Regions from separate parts of the Homo sapiens genome. Here region 2 is linked to region 1. Evidence: promoter capture Hi-C in 16 types of primary human blood cells and fetal thymus (Javierre and others, 2016). All regions are on one chromosome and are shown on one strand. Each heading gives the region's core, a stretch centred on a gene start or on the middle of the fragment in contact. The rest is flanking DNA. Distances are from core to core; before and after follow the strand shown. Region 1 holds the start of SOCS3 (suppressor of cytokine signaling 3). Region 2 has its middle 14 kb from the start of LINC01993.

Region 1 (6,523 bases), core at 4,024-6,523:
GGATTACCCAGACGTGGGAGGTTTACCCAAACCCGGGAGTTCAAACCTGCAGTGAGCTATAATAGCGCCACTGCACTCCAACCTGGGTGACAGAGTGAGACCCTGTCTCAAAAAACAAAAAAGTACAAGGACCCCAGGTTCACGGTTCCCTCATGGCTGTTATTCCAGTGAAAGGGGAACTCTGTGCAGCTGAAGGCAGTGGTGGCTGACCAGCAGACCCCAGGGCGAGGAAGACTCATCATCCTTCTGGAAGGCACTGGGGAGCCACACCCCACTGGGCCCCCTCACCTGCACTTGTGCTTTGGGAAGGTGGCCCTACCTGGGTTTACATTGCCAGTCTGGAGTTCCTTCATGATGCCTGTGGTGTGGCTCCCATATGCTCTGTCCCCTCAGCCGCCTCGTGCCTGGCCTGGCCCCTTCTCGTCACTTCAGGTCATTTTCTCCAAAAGTCCCAGGAAATAGGAAAGAAAAACGACTTTGTTTATTTACTCTCTGTTGCCTTTTGGACCCCGATTCCTGGAGCAGTATATTGGGTGCAAGGGGGCCAGGAAGAGGCTCTGGTATTTGTGTCATCTGAGAGAGATAAGGGCCCCTGACTTGGGGTTAACACTCATTTCCCAGCTGTCAGGTCACGGGGATCAGAGAAGGAGGCATGAAAGGAGAATACCTCAGAGAAGGTGGTTTTGTTTTTGTTTTTGGTTTCTGTTTTTTAAATGGAGACAGGGTCTCGCTATATTGCCCAGGCTGGTCTTGAACTTCTGGGCTCCAGCCCTTAGCCCACCTCGACCTCCCAAAGTGCTGGATTACAGGAGAGAAGACGTTTTTTGCTATTAGAAGAACCCTAGTGCTGAAACCCCAGAGTTGGGGGGAAGGGTACTAACCTCTTGGCTTTTAAGGAGGGACTCACTCCGGGGGCAGGTATATGCTGAGTGTATAGAGAGGCAGAGAGGCATGGGCTTTGGAAATCAAATGCTCCTGGGTTCCAATCCTGTTTTCCCCATATTCCCAAGTGGTGTGCCCTTGGCCAGGTTGCTTAACCTCCCTGAACCTGAGTTGCTGCCCCTACTTAGTTGACAAATATTTACTGAGCACCAATCTAGGCACCAGAAGTGACCAGTCCAAGTCCTGGCTCACATGGGGCACGTGGCCATGTCTGAGAACATGGGGATGAGAATGCCTGCCTTGTGGGAGCAGGTGGGATGCTTAATCCAGGTAACCTCTAAGTGCCCCTTAGTGTTTAAATGAGAGTGACTAAAAATAGATGGGCTGAGGGGAGGATACCTTCAGCCCGGGAGCTGGAGACCAGCCTGGGCAACATAGCGAACCCTGTTTCAAAAAAAGAGAGAGATGAATAGATGGGTGCTTTTTGGGAGGAGGGTGATCCTGTCCGCTGCTCAGGTTGGGGCCCCTAGGAACGGGGAAGGGAAGCAGGCATGGGGAGCAGTGGCCAGGAAGCCCCTGAATGCCTGGGGTCCTGTGGTGGGGGAGGGGGTGGGGCTCCACCTGCATGCAAGATTTGCTTCAGGACCACCCCTCCCCCCACTTCCAGTGAACCTGGCTAGACTGAGGTCATAGGTCACCACTAGGACCCCATGTCTGGGCTTTCTCGGAACGACTCCCTGCCAAGGAACCAGAGCGCCTCTAATAGCCTGGAGCCTCTAAAAGCTTTGACCACAGCTCAGCTTGCTCCCTGCAAGCCCTTTGAAGCGCTTCCTTCGAACTTGCTTTGCATATTCTGGTCAGATCTGAATCAGACTTGCAGGAATTACCCCTCTCGGTAAGTCTAGGTGGCTGCCTTAGCTTGTCAGTGACACACGAGGCAGGCGTGCTGACGTAAGGCTGAGACGTATTCGATTCCACCCTCTGCGGCTCTCTTCCTCCTCTCCGATGCAGAGTGTGGGTGTGGGTGAAAGAGAAAGCAAGGCACGGGGCGGGGGGCGGGGGGGCAGGGGTGCAGAAAAGGCTCAAGTCATGTTTTTCATTAAAAAATAGTGCTCTTTATTATAAATTACTGAAATGTTTCTTTTCTGAATATAAATATAAATATGTGCAAAGTTTGACTTGGATTGGGATTTTGTTGAGTTCTTCAAGCATCTCCTAATAGCCTCAAGGGCCTGAGTAGGGGGGAGGAGAGAGGACTGGAGGTGGAATCTTTATAAAAGACAGAGTGATTGAGGCAGATTGTAAACATTATTAAAAAACAAGAAACAAACAAAAAAATAGAGAAAAAAACCACCCCAACACACAACTGCCCTGTCCAGCCCAATACCTGACACAGAATACTTTGTGTTTGTTTAGTTGCCCCCCCCCACAAAAACAAAAACAAAAACAAAAACAAAAAACTGTTCCAGGTAATTCCATCGCTGCTACATTCCTGTAAATTGTCACTGATCAGTGCTATGGCAGAGCGGGAGCACCCGGGGTGGCAGCAGTCCAGCCTCTCCAATGACCTCCAGCCTCCCCCACCCAGGCAGGAGGGAGGGCTGTGCAGGGCTCGGGGCAGTGGGACCTGGTGGCTCTGCTCTGACCACGAGGCGCCTGACTGGCCAATACTTACTGGGCTGACATTCCCAGTGCTCAGCTGGGAGGCATGGGTTTCCGCCCCCCCTCCCCACTTCCCTGGCTGTGGGCTGGCTTGGTGCCCTCCAGTGAGTCCCTCAGCCTCTCCACCCATCCAGGCTGAGTATGTGGCTTTCCTATGCTGGGTCCCTCTCCATGGGACAGGGAGCATTTAAGGCGAATCTCTTAGCCAGACATAGTCAGGAGGCACAGAGTAGAATCCCCTGTCTTCTCTACCAGGAGCCTGAGGTGAAAGATGTCCCGTCTCCTCCATCCTCCCGCTCCATCCACCCAGGTACAGGAAGGTATAGTATGAGTAGGAAAAGGAGACCAGCTGACCAGCCCATCCATCCCCTCCAAATGTTGCTTCCCCCTTAAAACGGAGGAAGGGCCCTGGGCTCTCAGGCACCAGGTAGACTTTGGAACCTGTGTTTTCGGTGACTGTCCCGGAGGAGAGGATGTGGGGTACCAGGATGGTTCCCTTCAGGTCACCCCAAGCCCTTCTCCCCGGAGCCAGGGAGAGGAGCATGTCACCAGGATCCTCGCCTGGGGTGGGCGGGGGGTGTGACCATTTCCTTCGCCAGCCCGCAGCCCTGGGGCCCTCAGGACCTCTCTCTCTTCCACCTTTCCCAGGCTCCACAACCAGCTCAGGTTTAAACCAAATCAAAGAGCAAACAAGTTCCGTTGGAAAGTTTGAAGATTCCCTGGCAGTTCTCATTAGTTCAGCATTCCCGAAGTGTCCCCTGTTTGGAGGCAGAGGGGAAGCTGAGGAATTGAAGGAGAATCCACTTGTGGTTGCTATCGTCCCACCAGGACAGCTGGCTCCTCCGGAGAAGCTGGAGACTCAGGTGGTACTCCCCCTTCCCTCCAACACATTCCAGGTCCGCCTGCCACATTCTGCAGGGAGAGGGCAGAGGGAGGGGCCTGTCCGCCCTCTTTCCCCCCAGAGCTACAGGACTCTCTCCTGGTTGGCTTCTTGTGCTTGTGCCATGTGCCACGGAGGAGAGGGGCCTGCGTCCCCTCTCCCGACCCATGCCCTTTGCGCCCTTTACCCCTTAAAGCGGGGCATCGTACTGGTCCAGGAACTCCCGAATGGGCCCCGGCAGCTGGGTGACTTTCTCATAGGAGTCCAGGTGGCCGTTGACGGTCTTCCGACAGAGATGCTGAAGAGTGGCCACGTTGGAGGAGAGGGGCCGGCTCAACACCAGGGGGATCTTCTCGCCCCCGGAGTAGATGTAATAGGCTCTTCTGGGGGGACTCCCAGGGAGTGGCTGGGCAGACGGCTGCTCGGGCACCTCGGAGGAGGGTTCAGTAGGTGGCGAGGGGAAGGAGGGGGCTCCAGGGGGCGGCATGTAGTGGTGCACCAGCTTGAGCACGCAGTCGAAGCGGGGCACGGGCTGCGTGCTCCGGGGATCGCTCTGCAGAGAGAAGCTGCCCCCCTCACACTGGATGCGCAGGTTCTTGGTCCCAGACTGGGTCTTGACGCTGAGCGTGAAGAAGTGGCGCTGGTCCGAGCTGTCGCGGATCAGAAAGGTGCCGGCGGGCTCGGCACTGAGCAGCAGGTTCGCCTCGCCGCCGGTCACTGCGCTCCAGTAGAAGCCGCTCTCCTGCAGCTTGCGCACTGCGTTCACCACCAGCTGGTACTCGCTCTTGGAGCTGAAGGTCTTGAGGCGCAGGCTGGTGTCCAGGGGGCGGCTCATCCCGGCGGCGGGAAACTTGCTGTGGGTGACCATGGCGCACGGAGCCAGCGTGGATCTGCGCGGCGGCGGCTGCAGCTGCTTCGCGGCCTCCGCACAGCGGCCGCTACCGCATCCCGGGGGGCTGCGGAGAGGAAGGCGCGAGCGCGTTGAGTGCCCGGAACCCTCCAGCGCGCCCGGCCCGCCCCGGCTCCCCTGCCTTCGCCGAGCGACTGGGGCACCCACTGCCCCGGGGGCCCTCTCCTGGGCCCGCGCTCCGATCCAGGCGCCTCACGGAGCCCGCACGGCTCCCGCCCCTGCCGGCAGGGTGGCCCCGGGCAGCCCCTTCCCAGGCGCGCACTGCAAGGGCGCAGCGTGGGAAACTCGCGCGCGGAAGTTAGGTCTCCAGGAGTGTGGCCGGGTGGGGAGCAGGAGAAGGGCCCCCGGGACTGCCTGGGCGCCGCTCAGTCCAGTAGCCCCGGGCGGTGTGGACGGAGGGAGAAACCCGAGGCACGGGGGTAGGGAGGGGACAGGAGAAGCCCGAAGGCCCCAGCCGGAGTATTCCGGGAACCTGGGATCTCCGGCTTCCATCCGCTCTGCCCCTACCTCGTCACCTCCCTGCCGGGAATGACCCGGGAAGGGGAGGGGAAACCGGGAAAAGCTCCCGGGACTGAGCGAGACCCCTCCCCACGCCGCGCTCCTCCTTCCTACCTGGTCCCGAATCGAAGTCTCCGTCCTTGGGGCTGAGCCCCCTCGGGTCCCCAAGGCGACGCGGCGGCGAGACGGCCAGCGGTGGCCCGCGCTGCGCCCAGATGTTGGCGGCCGTGAAGTCCACAAAGGAGCCTTCGCGCGCGCGTCCCTCGAGCTTCCCCTGGGCGCCCGCCCTGCCCCCTGCGCACCCCCGGACCAACCGGGAGGGGACCAGGAGAGGGACCGCGGCAAGGGGCCGCGGCGGGAGCTGGGCCGGGCGGGCGGCTGGCGGCTGGCTGCGTGCGGGGCCGAAGCGGCAGCAGCGGAGCAGGGAGTCCAAGTCGGAGCCGCCGCGGAGGCCGCGCTCGCGGGTATATAGGCGGCCGCCGCGCCCCGCCCCCCGATTCCTGGAACTGCGCGGCCGGCCTTCTTGTAATGTTTAGTCACTACTCGCAGCAGAGAAAGGCTGAGCGCGGAGGGTGAGGGAGGGGCCGCGGGCGCCGAGGGCGGGCCGCGAGCAGGGGCAGGGACCGGGAGGGACGCGCGCGGAGACAAAGCGCGACGAGAGGCGGCCGAGGCGGCCGGTGGGCGCGGCGCCAGCCCCGGCGGCGCGTTCCTGGCAGCGGCCCCTCCCCGCCGCGCGCTCCGCCCCCAACTTCTCATTCACACTTTCCCCCCACCCCCCTCCCTTCTAAGAAGGCTGATTTCTGGCAGAGGCGGGGGCGCCGCTTCGGGAGAGCGGGCAGTTCTAGGAGGCCGACCTGGAGAGCCTCCCGGTTCCCCTTCCCCTTTTCCCGGACCCCGCGGGGACACCCCCTCGCCGCCACCCGGGCCTCCCCGAGGGCCCAACTGCGGGTCAGGCGGCCCGGGCCAGCCGAAAGGGAAGTGGGGCTACCCCACAGCCAGGCAGCGGGGCTGGGGTCAGACCCGGGAGCCGGAGGTTGGAGACGTGCGACAGTCACCTGCGGGCAGATTCCAGAGGGGAGACCCAGGGCTGCAGGGGACGCCCCTTCGTGGCAGCTACCCAGCCTCGGCCCACTGCCAGGTTCTTTGCCAACCCTGACGCGAGTGTGGAGCCCCCCTCCCCTCCCCTATGAAAACGCTTTCATGCACTGGGGTCTGCAAACCTGGTTGGTCCGGTGTGGGTTGGGCCAGGTGCTCTCGGCCGGGCTGGAGAGCTCGAGGTGGAACGATGGCCCCAACCTACGGCCCGCGTCCGCCAGAGGGCGCCCTGGGGTCTCCTAGGGGAGGGCAGTTTGGTGCTGCGCGGCCCAGGCCTTGGAATAGGCACGCCAGGGATCTGCGGGAATGGCTGTCTCCGGAGCTGGAAAGGTGGCCGAGAAGGGGGCATTCACACCCCAGGCTGGGGTCAGACCTGGGAATAAAATTCTAGCAGGAGAGAATTTCCGGAAAGCAGTTTTCCGGGGTTCAGGCTACTGCCAGATGGCCCACACCCCCTGGAATGTGACCCCCTGCCTCTCTTGGGGTGGGGGAGGACTTGATCACTGGCGGGGAGGGGGTAGAGGGGAGGAGAGGAAGTGATTGAGGTGAAAGATTGGTTTGCTGCTGGTCACGTTGGCACTGACGTAGATAGTTTG
Region 2 (6,405 bases), core at 3,784-6,283, 65 kb before region 1:
CTCCACGTTGGTCAGGCTGGTCTCAAACTCCCGACCTCAGATGATCCGCCTGCCTCGGCCTCCCAAAGTGCTGGGATTACAGGTGTGAGCCACCATGCCCAACCCCCCAGCCAGGACGGGAACTTCTTAGGATCCGGCTGCAGCCCAGGGCAGAGGAGTTCCCGCGGCTTCCTCCAGTGAGTTAAGTCAGGCCTGAGTGAGCATCTACTCTTTCTGGGCCGCTAGAGGGAGACCTTCGCAGCCTCGTACTTGGCTCAAGACACCAGGCTAAGGGGTGTCAGTGTGTGTGAGTGTATGTGTGTGTGTGAGTATGTGTTTTGTGTGTGTGTGAGTGGCGTGTGTGTGTTGAGTGTGAGTGTGTGAATGAGTGTGTGTGTGTTTTGTGTGTGAGTGCGAGTGTGTTTGTGTGTTGAGTGTAAGTGTGAATGAGTGTGTGTGTTGTGTGTGTAAGTGCGAGTGTAAGTGTGTGTGAGAGAGAGTGTGTGTGTCCTACCTGGGCATGCACGGGTGGGTGTGGGCAGTGACCTGAGCCCTGCACGTACTGCCAGGTGGCCCGGCTTGCCAAAGGTGGGGAAGGGTTATTTACCCAAAGTGGGAGAGACCTGCAGGCTGGGCGGCAGCGGCAGGAAGAACAGCGAGCGAGGCCACAGTGGCATCCATGGAAGATGTTATTTGGGGCCTTTTCCGTGCCTGCTACTGTTCTTCGCATCCTGCGTGTATCACGAGAAGCAATCCTATCAAAGGAGGACCTATGAATACAATATCCACTTTACAGAGGAAGAAACTGAGGCTCAGAGAGGCTGAGTCACTTCCAGAGCTGAGATTTGAACCCAGGGAGTGGGGGCTGGGGCCTGGGCTCCACAGCACAAAGGAGCCCTGCCTGCTGGGACAAGGAGCTGCCTTGTGGTATGGCCAGTGTGCCCAAGCCAGCCTTTGGAGCCCGCTGGGCTGGCTCTGGGTTCCAGCTCTGCCGCCTGCCTGCTGAGTGTCCTTGGGAAAGTCCCTCCACCTCCCTGAGCCCCGCTTTCTCCTCTGTAAGATGGGACTAATGACACCTATTTCTCTGGTTGTTTAGAGGTTTAATGGTTCACTGTATGCAGAGGGAGGCAGACTTCAGGGCCTCCTCAGGAGCCTTGGCATGCGGCCACAGGGCCTTTGTATGTACTGTGTGTGCGCCTAAGATGCCCATTAGAAAGATAAGATGCCACCTCACTGCGGACTCCCCTTAATCTCCCTGCTGCAGGGCCAGCTCCAGGGGTGTGTGACCTATGGAGGTGCACTGGTCCCCATGCTCAGAGCACGCTGTGCTGGGTTTAATGATCTCCGTCACCATTTCGAAATTCTTAGTGATTTTTTAACAAGGAGCCCTGCATCTTCATTTTGCACTGGGCCCTGCCAGTGTCACAGCTGGGCCTGCCCTGCAGTTTCTTTTTCTTTCTTTCTTTTTTTTTTGAGATGGAGTCTCGCTTTTGTTGCCCAGGCTGGAGTGCAATGGCATGATCTTGGCTCACTGCAGCCTCCATCTCCTGGGCTCAAGTGATTCTCCTGCCTCAGCCTCCCAAGTAGCTGGGATTACAGGCGCCCACCACCACGCCCAGCTAATTTTTGTATTTTTAGTAGAGATGGGGTTTCACCATGTTGGCCAGGCTGGTCTCAAACTCCTGACCTCAGGTGATCCGCCCACCTCAGCCTCCCAAAGTGCAGGGATTACAGGCGTGAGCCATGGTGCCCGGCTGCCCTGCAGTTTCTCCTCCTGCGCCGTGCCCCGCATGATCTGCCCCCAGCGAGGAAGGAGACTGAAGAGCAGCAGGGAGGGTCCCTGGAGACAGAGCGGGCAGAGTGGGCTCGACGCACCCCTGACACCCATCAGCAGGCGCCTTCCTCAATGCGGACAGGCAGACCCTCCTCTCTTGGGCACACACTCAGTCAGCCCCTGGGTCAGTTGCTCCTCCTAAAATGGGACTGACAGTTGAAGACCTCCAAGCTTCCCAGTCATAGCAGTGGCCCCTCTCAGCCCACACCCAGTCCACTCTGGATTGCTAGTGGGGATCCCCCGAGACAGGGTTCTCCCCCAGGCTGGTCAGCCCCACATCTGTGAAGCTTTCTGGGCCTCTCCACACCCCCAGTTCTCTGAGGCAGGCGGGGTCTCCAGGGCAAACTCGTGTGAGCCTCACCTGTGTGTTGCACCGTCCTGTCTGCAAACAGAAACCCTCACGCTGCCGAGCCGATGCCTCTGTCCCCAGCACCTCCTTGGGGACGGTGGACTCCATGGTCAAAGGGCCAACTCAGGGGAGCCACAGTATCTGTGCTTCAGGCAGCCCGAGTTGAGGACGTGTGGCATTCTGCTGGCATCGTTCATGCCTCACTCTTGGCTCTGGGGCTGGGCACTTGCTTTCTGGCCCAGCCTGCCGCCAGGGTGAATGGCCTCTGGGGCAGATGGCGTTCTGGGAACAGGTAATGTCCTGGCCAGCGGGCAGGCCGGAGCTGGAGCCTGGGTGGAGGGCTCCCCAAGGACCACCCTGGGTCCCACTCGGCTTTCCCTGCGTGGGGGCGACACTGTTGCCAGTTACAGACCGCCCAAGAGTGCCCCGAGATCTAAGCATAGGACACAACAGGGGCTGGTCTCATCCACCTCGGATCCACCCACCTGCAGCCCAGTCCGGCTGTGTCCCTCAGGTCACACTCACTGTGTTTTGAGAACTCTCCTCCGGGCCTACAAAGTTTGCCAAGGCGAATGTCAAAGGGATATGGGGGCAACAGCTCCCAAGATCAGCCCTAATCCACCCTCCTCATCTGCCCTCTCCATGGGGCCTCACTCCATGTCTCCAACATCTCAGGTTGGTGTCCAAGCCACGGCCTCACATGGACTCACCTCCTGCTTCAGTCTCTGTTTCTGACCAGGCTTCTTGCTCCCAGGGAGGAGCGAGCTTGGACCGCTGCTCTCAGAAGGGACCCTCCTAGCTGGACCTGCCCCTGATTTGGCCGGGTGCCCTGGGCTCTGTGCCCATCTCCACCAACCTCCCAGAAGCGAGAGCTGGATACCTGCCTCTCTGTGTCCAGCTTCCTTCCTTCCTTCCTCAACAATCAGTTATTAAACACCCAGGATACAGATGCACGGTGCTGCTGCAGCTGTCCTCCAGGCTGCCTTTTTTTTTTTTTTTTTTTTTTTGAGACAAAGTCTCACTCTGTCGCTCAGGCTGGAGTGCAGTGGCACGATCACAGCTCACTACAACCTCAACCTTCTGGGCTCAGGTGATCCTCCTACCTCAACCTCCCAACTAACTGGGACCACAGGTGCATGCCACCATGCCTGGCTTGTATTTTGTGTAGAGATGAAGTTTTGCCATGTTGCCGAGGCTGATCTCGAACTCCTGGGCTCAAGTGATCCACCCACCTCGGCCTCCCAAAGTGCTGGGATTTCAGGCGTGAGCCACCGTGACTGGCCCCATGCTCTTGGCTTCTAATCATAGACTTTGGGGCTCATTCAGATCACCTCTCATAGTGAACTTTTGTCACTTTCTTCTCCACCATCCACTTTACCCCAGGGATGAGCCTTCATTGGTCTAAGCCAGTCTGACTCTCTCACCCCCTTGGTTATAACGATATAGGATACATGTCCCAACCCGGGTCAGATGGCCCTATAAATAGGTTTCAGTTGCTTTACCTACAAGTAGTTCCTTTTTTTTTTGAGATGGAGTCTTGCTTTGTCACCCAGGCTGGAGTGCAGTGGCACGACCTTGGCTCACTGCAACCTCCGCCTCCCAGGTTCAAGTGATTCTCCAGCCTCAGCCTCCCAAGTAGCTGCAATTACAGGCGCACACCACCACGCCCAGCTAATTTTTTTTTTTTTTTTTTGAGACGGAGTCTGGCTCTGTCCCCCAGGCTGGAGTGCAGTGGCACAATCTCGGCTCACTGCAAGCTCCACCTCCCGGGTTCACGCCATTCTCCAGCCTCAGCCTCCCGAGTAGCTGGGACTACAGGCGCCCGCCACCACGCCTGGCTAATTTTTTAGTATTTTTAGTAGAGATGGGGTTTCACCATGTTGGCCAGGATGGTCTCGATCTCCTGAGCTCGTGATCTGCCCTCCTCGGCCTCCCAAAGTGCTGGGATTACAGGCGTGAGCCACCGTGCCCGGCCTACACCCAGCTAATTTTTGTATTTTTAGTAGAGATGGGGTTTCACCATGTTGGCCAGGCTGGTCTTGAACCCCTGACCTCCGCTGATCCACCCACCTAGGCCTGCCAATGTGCTGTGATTACGGGCGTGAGCCACTGCACCCGGCCAAGTAGTTCCCTTTCTGTTGCATTGGGACCTAGAGGCACATGGCCTGGGCCTGCCCAAGGGTGTCTTGTGACCATGAGGGAGAGTCTGCAGAGGACAGGGCCCCTCCCCGTGCAGGAGGGCCTGGCTAGTTGAGTGAGTCTCTGATGAGGCAGTGCCTCCGAGGGTCAGTCATGCTCAAACTCAGTGTGCCCCAAGTCCTGACCCCTGGTATTCTGGGCTATCACTGCCCAGGAAAACAGCACTCCAAACCCTGGCCTTCAGGCCTGTTCCTTTATGCTTATCGCTGGAATCCCTGGTCCAGAGGGTCTTCAAATCCACACAAGCCCCTCCTGCTTGGCCCTAACCCGATGGGTTAAGCGTTTCAAGGGAGGGCTTGAGAGGTCCCCAGGACATGCCTGGAGGGCCAATAAATGACCGTGAACGGTGGTGAGTGAGGCAGGTGGAGAGTGTGACCATGAAGAGCAGGGCAGACTCCCCAGAGTACTGTAGGGAGGCAGCTGCAGTCTGGATGAAGAGTACACGCCAAGGCCAATTGTGGTTGCTGGTGGGATGCAGCTGGGAAAGCGAGAGTGAGGACCCCAGACCCTGGCGGCTGCAATGCCTGGGGGCATGTGACATGGTGGTGAAGGGGGAATTGTGTGTTGATCCTACCCTGGCCGCAAGTCCAGGCTCACAGGCCATGGCCACTGACCACAGGAAGAGGCCTCCCTCCTTAAAGTCGGGAGAATATCCCAGAACTAAGGCTAGTCCTGCATCCTGGCCGGGAATCCCAGGCCAACACCCTCCCCGCGATCTTAGGTGCTTAGCAGCCCTGGCTGGTGACCCCTGGGCGGAGAGAGTACGGTAATTTGCAAGAAATCCAAGAAAGCCCTGGTGAGTGGTTGCTTTTCCTATGTTGCAACCATCCGCGAAGTGAATGCTGCTCTGTGTCTCTATTGTTGTTTTGATGGTGTTCGAGATGATGAGGAGAACCTGAGTCACAGCCTTTACGAGTCTGATTTCCTCAATTTACAGGAGCTGCCTACGCGTTCTGGAAGAATTCACATGCTGATTTGTAGGCGGCCTGGCCAGGTGCTTCGGAGACTCCAGCAGCATCGAAGGTGTGATTTTAGATCTGTACTCCCGAGGCTCTTGTGTTATTTAAGAAGGTCAGTGTGAGGCCGGGCGCGGTGGCTCACACCTGTAATCCCAGCACTTTGGGAGGCCGAGGCGGGCGGATCACGAGGTCAGGAGATCGAGACCATCCTGGCTAACACAGTGTAAACCCCGTCTCAACCAAAAATACAAAAAATTAGCCGGCGTGGTGGTGGGCACCTGTAGTCCCAGCTACTCGGGAGGCTGAGGCAAGAGAATGGCGTGAACCCAGGAGGCGGAGGTTGCAGTGAGCCGAGATCACGCCACTGCACTCCAGCCTGGGCAACATAGCAAGACTCCGTCTCAAAAAAAAAGAAAAAAAGGTCAGTGTGGTTAAATGCATAAGAAGTAATCAGTGTGTTAAATGTATGAGTTAATTGAGCATAGCCCAAGTGAAAGTGATTGTGTTTTCATATTAAAATTAGATTTATAAAGAGAATGCTAAAACTTGTTGGATTTTGGAATGCAAGGTCTAAGTAAAGGTAGGTTTTAATATTGACAACTTTTACACTTGATATATTGACTCTTTTTTTTTTTGAGACTAGACTCTGTTGCCCAGGCTGGAGTGCAGTGCTGTAATCATGGCTCACTGCAGCCTCAACCTCCCAGGCTCAAGCAATCCTCCTACCTCAGTCTCTCAAAGTGCTTAGACTACAGGTGCATGCCACCATGCCCGACTAATTTTTTAAAAAAAATTTTTAGCGAGATGACTTAGTGAGAGGTCTCACTAAATTGTCCAGGCTAATCTCAAACTCCTGGGCTCAAGCAATCCTCCCACCTCAGCCTCCCAAGTAGCTGGGACTACAGGCACGCACCACCACACCCAGATAATTTTCAATTCTTTTTTTTGTCGATAGGGTCTTACTATTTTGTCCAGGCTGGTCTCAAACTCCTGGGCTCCAGCAATCCTCCCACCTCGGCCTCCCAAAGTGCTGGGATTACAGGTATGAGCCACCGTGGCCAGCCTTGACTCAATTCAAATTCAAG

The links. The method cuts DNA at HindIII sites, captures the fragments that hold promoters and counts their contacts. A CHiCAGO score of 5 or more calls a contact.
Region 2: a contact is called between a fragment that was not itself captured here and the fragment with the promoter of SOCS3 in region 1, in 12 of 17 cell types (activated CD4 T cells, naive CD4 T cells, endothelial precursors and 9 more). The highest score is 10.5, in activated CD4 T cells.

The regions. Positions count from the first base shown.
Region 1 is chr17:78,354,804-78,361,326 of GRCh38, forward strand. It overlaps SOCS3 (suppressor of cytokine signaling 3), which reads right to left and starts at 5,274. Exons shown (of 2, transcript NM_003955.5): 1 at 4,947-5,274; 2 at 1,975-4,380. The coding sequence starts at 4,292. The coding sequence ends at 3,615. SOCS3-DT (SOCS3 divergent transcript) reads left to right here and starts at 5,645. Exons shown (of 5, transcript NR_110847.1): 1 at 5,645-5,970. RefSeq lists enhancers at 1-278, 602-651, 1,477-1,976, 2,034-2,683, 4,630-5,278 and silencers at 4,386-4,625, 5,036-5,315, 5,326-5,635, 5,696-5,895, 6,126-6,175 and 1 more. The HindIII fragment of the contact is 6,903 bases long and covers 1,664-6,523 here.
Region 2 is chr17:78,289,737-78,296,141 of GRCh38, forward strand. No RefSeq gene overlaps it. Among named protein-coding and RNA genes, the nearest start is that of LINC01993, 14 kb to the left of the region's middle. RefSeq lists a silencer at 1,995-2,264. The HindIII fragment of the contact is 5,870 bases long and covers 2,099-6,405 here.